Linked DNA regions of Homo sapiens: region 1 is linked to region 2. The links are contacts of gene promoters, found by promoter capture Hi-C in human tissues and cell types (Jung and others, 2019). All regions are on one chromosome and are shown on one strand. The core of a region is centred on a gene start or on the middle of the fragment in contact, and the rest is flanking DNA. Distances in the headings are between cores, read along the strand shown.

Evidence for each region. The method cuts DNA at HindIII sites, captures the fragments that hold promoters and counts their contacts. A contact is called where the count stands out against the background at its distance.
Region 1: a fragment that was not itself captured here is called in contact with the fragment with the promoter of BCL2A1 in region 2 in 1 of the 25 tissues and cell types used here (IMR-90 fibroblasts).

Annotation. Positions count from the first base shown.
Region 1 is chr15:79,677,794-79,682,469 of GRCh38, forward strand. No RefSeq gene overlaps it. Among named protein-coding and RNA genes, the nearest start is that of TRC-GCA5-1, 65 kb to the right of the region's middle. The HindIII fragment of the contact is 6,632 bases long and covers 1-4,676 here.
Region 2 is chr15:79,968,263-79,972,534 of GRCh38, forward strand. BCL2A1 (BCL2 related protein A1) reads right to left here and starts at 2,934. Exons shown (of 2, transcript NM_004049.4): 1 at 2,438-2,934. The coding sequence starts at 2,857. RefSeq lists enhancers at 4-53, 2,358-3,557. The HindIII fragment of the contact is 21,858 bases long and covers 1-4,272 here.

The DNA of each region.
Region 1 (4,676 bases), core at 867-3,366, 290 kb before region 2:
TTGCATTTATTTAAAATATGTGTTTGTGAACCTGTCATATGCCAGGCACAGTTCTAAATGGTGAGGATACAGAAAGTAAGCAAAACAGACCATGTGCCTGCCTTCATAAAGTTTACATCATTTGTGAAGACAGACTATAAGTAGACAAAGAAATAAGATCACTTCATATGGTGAACTGTGCTATGAAGAAGATAAAACAGAGTAATGAGATAAAGAGAAGGAAGCGTCTCTGAAGATGTGATATTTGAGCTGGGATCTGAGTGTTGAAGAGAAGCCAGCTGTGCAGGAGTCTGGGGGAAGAACACTCCATGCAGAGGGAATGGAAAATGCAAAGGTGCTGTGGCTAGAACAAACTTGGAAGATTTGAGTGTTTGTGAAATAGAAAATAATAATAATTAATTATTATTATGTAAATATATTATGTGAGTATATTATTTATATTATTTAAATGATATATATTACATAATGTATAATTAATGTCATAATATAATAAATATGTTATTGTAATATAAACATAGTATTACATATATGTAATGTGTGAGCAGCATCATGCAATGCAGAGGGCATGGGGGGTATTCCCCCTGGAGCAGGTAAAATTATGAGGTTAAGTAACCATACATTGATAAGCTATATACAATGTCTTTATCTCTCCACTCAATTTAGAATCTCCAGTACATGTGTATTACTTGGAATGCCAGGTATAAGACAACAGCTATTTATTCATTTCACATTTATTCAATACTTACTTTGTGCCAGATGGAAGGCTAGAATAGGGATAAACAAACTTTTTCTGTAAAGATTGTGAGAGTGAATATTTTAGGCATTGTAGGCCACATAGGCTGTCTCTCACATACTGTTTTGTTCTTACCATGCTCTAAAAATGTAGAAACTGCTCTTAGCGTTAGGGCTGTACACAAAGAGCCTGCCGGTTAAGTTTCACCTGTGGGCTATAATTTGCCAACTCCTGGACTTAAGGTGAACAAGACATGTCCCTACCTTAAAAATGCTCTAAATCTAGTAGGGAAGAAGATAAGAAATTATAATACAGAGTGACAGAGAAGACTTCACAGCAGAATGAGAGGAAGGGAACTTCCTGCATTGTTATAAGGAAGGGCACTTAACTCTATATTGGAAAACCAAAGCATGCTTCCTACAGGAAGTGCCATCTAAGGTAATGAGTAGAAGCTGACCAGGTGAAGAGGGGAAGGTGAATATTCCAGGTTGAAAGCCAGCATTGGCAAAGGCCTGGAAATGAAAGAGACCACAGGACAAATTCTGGGAACTGCAGATCTCTTCATTATCTTTAAAATCAAGGGCTATAAACTCAAATTTCTATAGAGGCCAGGTGGGTACAAATCACAGAGTACATAAAGCAGGCTATGGAAGGAGCCACAGCTCAGCAAGAACACTGCTAATCTTGGTGCCAGTGGCAAGGACACAGTAGGAGGTGATGGAGACGGTGCCCTGTCTAAGGGGCAGCTGGTGCTTAGCTTCTGCCTACTGGGGATGTGGCCCAATGTTAGCAAATCTGATTTTTCAGAAGACAAAAGAAGATGTTGATAGCTTTGATAGTTTCGAAGTTTAAATATCTTTGAAATATTCCATATTGGCACTTGCCTGTAGTCCCAGATAGTTGGGAGAATTAAGTGGGAGGATTACTTGAGCCCAGGAGTTTGAGCAGTGAGCTGTGATCATGCCACTGCACTCCAGTCTGGGTGACAGAATGAGACCGTCTCAAAAAATGTATATATACATATATTAAATATATACAATTTTTTCAAAGATTGGTGATGCATTTTTATTCATTTTAACCACTGTGAAGAAACATGTCTGCACGCCAACTTTGTCCCGCTGGCCTCTGGTTTGCAGGCTCTGGGCTTCATCAAAAAGGACCAGAGATGAGACTAAAAGGGTCAGTCAGGGTCATGTATACTGGCTGATAAACAAAAAAAAGAAGAAGAAGCGGAAGAGGAAAAAGAAGGAGGAGGAAGAGGAGGAAGACCAGAGGAGGAGGAGAGAAGAAAAAGGAAAGGCTGGCCACTTCTCAGAGCTCAGGTGTAATTTGATGCTATGGTGCGTTGCATATTTTTTAAGGGAGAGGTCATGTGGATCAGCTAAGCTGTGAAAGTTGAACTTGTTTTTTTCACCAAATGAGTCTGTTCATTTATTCCTTCATTAGCAAATGTCTACTGCACACCAACCATGTGCCAGCTCCCTTCTAGGCATTTAGTGTACATCAGTGAACAAAGCAGACTGATCCTTGCCCTCAAAGAATTTCTGTTCCAGGGAGTGAGAGGTGGTAGAGGAAGACAAAAACATTAAACGTAAATACATAAATCAATGTTTTAGGAGATGATAGGTTTCATAGAGGAAATAAGGGAAGGCATGAGGGATAGAGAGGAGGTGGAGAGGAACATGTAGTTGCAACTTGAAATAGACGAGTCAGGGCAGGCCTCCTGGAGAACAGAATTACAGATGAGGGAGTTGGCCATGCAGATATCTGGATCAGCATTACAGCAGAGGGAACAGCCAGTGCAAAGGCCCTGAGGACCGAGTGTGCCTGGTGTGTTGGAAGACCTACTAGGAGACCATGTAGCTAGAGGATAAACAGGGGGAGAGCAGTAATAGCAGCAGTAACAGTGGAAGGTAGAAAAAATAGTATTGGCTAACTCCTGCAGCTGTGTGCATATCTGTCAGAAGAAGAAAACCTCCATCACCCACAAAAGCCTCTCTATAAAGATACCGTCTCCAGCAACTGTTCCAAGGAGGCTATCAGCTTCCAGGCAGGCCCCAGGGCACTCTAGCCTAAGCCTGACACCTCGGAATCCTAGATTCCTAGACCAGTCAGTGGTCCTCAAACTAGGGAAGGCACATCTCTAGGGGTTGTTGGAGACTTTCTAAGGGATACCTGGACATGGACGGGCTAAAAGGAATCATCGCCCAAGCACTCAGCCTCTGTGTAATCTGTACTAAAGCTGATCTGCCAAAGAATGACCCCCTTGCTCACCAACCCTTTGTCCACTTGACAAAAGAAAAGTAAAAGCACGCCCATCCTCAGTCTCACTACGAGGCATTGTCGAAGGTTTAAAAGCCTCCAGAGCACCCAGCAGGGGAAAGCCCCTCAGTGAGTCACTGCAGCATCAGATCCTTGGGGCTTCCGGCTTTCCTGCTTACTTATTTTCCTGTTGGGGTGCAGGAGTGTTAGGCATGCAGCCTCCTTGGGATGTTTTGAATTAGGTAAGAGTAGAGAGCAGTAGTGGGAGTAATAACAATTTTTGTTTAAAGACTTTGCCTCTCCTGTCCCCAGGCTATTGTCAAAGAACACATTGCTCTTAAGGGAGAATCTTGTTAGAGCAAAACAGACAATGCCGGCAGAGAGAGGGAATTTTACAATCTGCCTCTTTCACATATTTAAACATAGGCAATCGCCTGGCAAGGTGGCTACAACTCCACCTGCCAGCCGCCATGCTTTCCATGAACTCCACCGTGTTACTTGGTCCAGATTAAGGAATAAGCTTTTGTGGAGAGGAGAATATTCACAAGGCCTGAGCCAATAAGGGAAGAGGGGCCAGGCTCCCAGGCTCCTGTGGGCCAAGGCCTGGGGATTCACTGGTCAGACAGCCCATGTCTACCTTCCAGGGGAGGAGTTGTGTCTGGGACTGGGTCATTTTATAGAGCATCCGTAAGAAAGCAGCCTTGCCCATGGGGGACAGGTTGTTTGGGGCTTGGCATTTGGCTCTGATGTGCCAGCTGTTTACTGGGGTTGTCTGGCCTGCAAGCCGGCCAGCACCTGGGGCCTTGTAAAGTCCAGCTCTGTCTATCCGGGAAGGAAGCCACCAATCCCTATACCTCCCCAGGAACTAAATAGCAGGGACAGGGAACCCCCGTTCTCTTTCTTTGCTCATTTCAGATTTCTCCTTCCCAATAAAGCTCCTAAACCCATACCACGGGACACTGTGGAATTTGTTTAGAGCCCTGAACATTGGAAGTGGTGACCCCTAAGGGACCCAACAGCCCCTTGCAGATGAACACTGCAGAGAGAAACCCTGCATGCTGAGGTTATGGCCTTTTGGAAAGAGCAGAAAAGATGAAGTAGGTTATTCCAGGGATGGGACATGTGCCCCATGGAGTAAAAGATGTCACTGGGATAGCAATCAGGCTTAGTTGGACCACTTCAAATGGAGCATGACATTGGAAGAATAAATGATCAGGTGGCTTTCGTGTCTAAAAGTCAACACAGCCCTGGAGGGGAAGTCATCCAGCACTGGGGGATGGTGGCTGGGGGCTGCGTGGTCTGCCAAAGGCACCAATATCCTCCCACCTCACTATGGGTCATGGGTGTCTAGGAATCCCCTCCGAGATTGCTAGCAGGGTTGCAGCAGCCTAACACCTTAGAAATCACCCAGGAGTTTGGAGAGGTCTGGTATAGATAGGGATGTAACAACACTTAAAAAAATTAGGGTTCCCTGTCCTTCAGTCAAACCACCACCACAGGAGCAATGGCTGGATGCAGATATGAGTTTGCATCCAAAGAGTCAAGTAAATCTGCAGGCAGGCAGGCAATAGGGAGGGGTGACCCAGGGCCCTGCTGCAGAGCACATGGCTGGACTGATCCCAGGAGGGGTGGGGGACACTCGTGCCTTCTGGAAATAGGTGTCTGGGAGCAAAGAGTTCTC
Region 2 (4,272 bases), core at 1,684-4,183:
TCTCTGCAGGCTCATCTGTGGTCCTCTGTGCCAGAGAACATTTGCCTTCACCTGAAATCTACACAGTGCAGCTGAATTTCCACCAGTCCTCAAGTATAGCCTCCCACAGCCAACCGGAAGAAAACATGACAAAACATTTCACATGATTCGCCCAGCCTCAGTCAGGCTCAGTTAGAAAGAACTAAGTTCCAGGAAGAAGGTGATTGAGAAAGGGGAGTAGCTGCAGTAAGCTCTATCATGCAGGAAGGCCTTAAACAAAATGAAAAAGGCATCAAGTAAAAGATCAATAAATTTGATTGCAACAAACTTTTAAACATTTATAATGACCAAAGACATCATTAGCGTTAATCAGCAAACTAAAAGATATCTGCCACATACATAAAAATAATTTGGGTGCATGGCTCACGCCTGTGATCCCATCACTTTGGGAGGCCAAAGGGGGAGGATCACCCGAGGTCAGGAGTTCGAGACCAGCCTGACTAACATGGTGAAACCCTGTCTCTACTAAAAATACAAAATTAGCTGGGTGTGGTGGCACATGCCTGTAATCCCAGCTACTTGGGAGGATGAGGCAGGAGAATTGCTCGAAACCAGGAGGCAGAGGTTGCAGTGAGCTGAGATCACACCACTGCACTCCAGCCTGGGCAACAAGAATGAAAACTCTGTCTCAAAAAATTTAAACAATAATAAAAATAATAATTTGTATCCAGAATATTCAAAGAATTCCTACAAATCAATAAGAAAAAGACAAAATAAAAGGAAAATGGGCAAAGGGTGTAAACAGACAATTCCCTGCATTTACAAATGATCAGTTAATATATGAAAAGATGCTCAAAATGTAAAAAAAAAATTAACCTTACTAGAAATCAAGAAAACAAGAATTGAAACAAGATAAACTCTATATTTTTAGCCCAACAAATTAAGAAAATTATGATGAATTGCAGCAACCTACTGTTAGTCAGCTGGGGTAGGAGAATCCCGGGGCATATCCTAACGAGCTGCTGATGGGAGTGTAACTTGGTAGAGCCACTTTGGAGGGCAAGGACCTAACAAATTAAAAAATGTATGTACACCATGACCCAGCATCTACAACCCAACATCCACCCTAGAAAACTACACACACGCACAAGGGAAGATTTACGTAAAATGATATTCAATGAAGCATTGTGTGTGACAGCAAACTCGAAATAACCTAAACAGCTATCAGCTAGAAATGGCCAGGTACTCTACAGCACTTACATATAACAGAATATACACAGCACTCTTAATAATACTATTTTAAATAATTCTGGGTAAAAAAATAAGTGGCAGCATTAGTACCATGTACTATTTTTACATATACACATGTAAAAATATGTATGCAAAATTTATATGTATACATAAAAAATCTATGTGTATATGTAAAAAAGGTATGTGTTATATGGTATAACATATATGTTATGTAAAACATATACATAAGCATACATATACATTTTATATAAAACTTTTTTTACAAAAAATGTTTTACAAAGAAGTATTGTTTATTTTCTATGGATAGATTCAGTAGGCATGTTTTGCATGCAAAATAATTGATAACAGTGGTTACCTCTTGGGAGAGGTGAAGGCCGTTGGAGAGAGGATCAATGAACACTTAAGTGCTTTAAAAAAATAATTATTAAGTATATTGGAATATAAAGGAAACCATATACATCCAGCTGTGTCAGGCTTTTTACCAACATGAGTTTCAACACAGGCCTCTACATAGTCTTGGCTTTTTTAGGCACTGATAATAAAGTAAATTTTTATTTGAAAATTCTTGAATAAAGGTTCTTGCTGGTCATACAGTATATTATGTTTTAATCAACAAACTTTAACAGCCCGGAATTTATTATTAGTAATAATGTGTTATATATTATATGTAATGTAATTTGCTATATATTAATATATGTTACTATTTATTATGTATTAGTAAACTGAAAAACACCAATTTGTAAGCGATGAACTTACAAAAATTTACACCTGTCTTTTGCAACCCATAAATACCTAAAAATAACAGCATCTGATAGCAACTTTCTGTGCTGATTGTAGAAATTTCTGTACTGTCTGTACTGTCATGACAACCCTAGCAAAAGCTAAGTACTAGATTAGAGTGTGTGCACAGCTGATTGTGAAGCTGCATGAGAGAGGTGCTTTATTAATCCCCAAAGCTCACTACTGTAATTTATACTGTTAAGAATAAAAACTGAAAACATAAGTGCTTTCCAACTATAAAGTTCAAGTTCAAGGATTCATTGGAAATAAGCCAGAAAGTATATTTTTATTTTAAAAATTAAAACAAACCACCCAAGGAAAATAGTATTCTTAGGTAAAGTGTTTTGTTGTTGTTTTAACTAGCAAGGAAATTCTCAATTTCTATTTCACAGGAAAGAACAATGAAGAATTTTTCCATCACACATACCCAGCCTCCGTTTTGCCTTATCCATTCTCCTGTGTTATTCATTATGAACTCCGCAACAAAATATGAAATCTCCTTATAGGTATCCACATCCGGGGCAATTTGCTGTCGTAGAAGTTTCTTGATGAGAATACCTTCAAATGCAAATATGGTTACAATTCTTCCCCAGTTAATGATGCCGTCTTCAAACTCCTTTTCCATCACTTGGTTGAATAGTGTTCTGGCAGTGTCTACGGACACAACATTAACATTGTCCAAGCATGACTTCAGATTCTTTTCCACTTCTTTTTGGACTGAGAACGCAACATTTTGTAGCACTCTGGACGTTTTGCTTGGACCTGATCCAGGTTGTGGTATCTGTAGGACGCACTGCAGATAGTCCTGAGCCAGCCTGTAAATATATCCAAATTCACAGTCTGTCATCTTCTGCCTGGTGGAGAGCAAAGTCTTGAGCTGGCTCACCTTGAAGCTGTTGAGGCAATGTGCTGAGAATGCTCACTGAGCTTGACTGAGTTATGACACATGATGATACATGGAGGCTGGTGGAATTTCTGTTTGCATCACTTTATAATATCCTTCCTCCTAGTCACTTTCGTGCGTAGGCTGTGTTTCATGTCATGTATGAAAGAGAAAGTTTAAAATGTGAAAGAGGAAAATGTTTCAGAGAAGCCACTTCCTCATCCTGTGATTAATTCAGCTTTGCAAGTCTTAAATGCAGGATGTGGAGAAATTAGAATCCTTGTAGATTGCTGGTGGGAATGTGAAATGGTACAACCCCTGTGAAAATGTTGGCAGTTTCTCAAAAAGTTAAATACAGAATTGTCAAAAGACCCAGCAATTCCATTCATAGGTATACACCCAACAGATACTCAAATACTTACATACGAATGTACATGGCAGCACTATTCACAATAGCCAAGATGTGGACACAACTCAAATGTTCATCAACAGACGAAAGGATAAATAAATTATGGAACATTATTCATCCCAAAAAAGGAATGAAGAACTGATACATGCTTCAACAGGAATGAACCTCAAAAACATTAGGCTAATAGAAAGAAGCCAAACAGAAAAGGTCATACATTATGTGATTCTATTTCTATGAAATATCCAGACAGTTAAATCCATAGGATAGAAAGCAAATTGGTGGTTGACAGGGGCTGAGAAGAGGAAGGAGTAACTGCTTAATGGGTAGAAGGTTTTCTTTTGTGTGATGAAAATGTTTTACAAGGCCGGCCGCGTTGGCTCACGCCTGTAATCCTAGCACTTTGGGAGGACAAGGCGGGCGGATTGCCTGAGCTCAGGAGTTTGAGACCAGCCTGGGCAATATGGTAAATCCCCGTCTGTACTAAAATACAAAAAATTAGCCAGGCGGGTGGCGTGTGCCTGTAATCCCAGCTACTCGGGAGGCTGAGGCAGGAGAATTGCTTGAACCCGGGAGACAGAAGTTGCAGTGAGCCAAGATCACGCCACTGCACTCCAGTCTGGGCAACAGAGCGAGACTCTGTCTCCAAAAAAAAAAAGAAAAGAAAATGTTTTGCAGCTAGATAGAGGTGGAAGTTGCACAACACTGCGAAGGTACTAAATGCCACTGAATTGTTCACTTTAAAATGGTTCTGTGAATTTCAAATTTAAGAAAAGTCTTAAACGCCATCCACGGGGTAAACCGGAGTAACGACAATTTGGAATGGAGACTACAAAACAGCCTGGGTGGCAGAGAACAGGGCCTCTCGAGGTGACTCTGGCAGTACCGCCCTTGATCATTTGTAATTGAGTAAGGATGATACCGAGAGGGAAGAAAAAAATACCCTCTTTGGGCCAGGCACGGTGGCTCACCC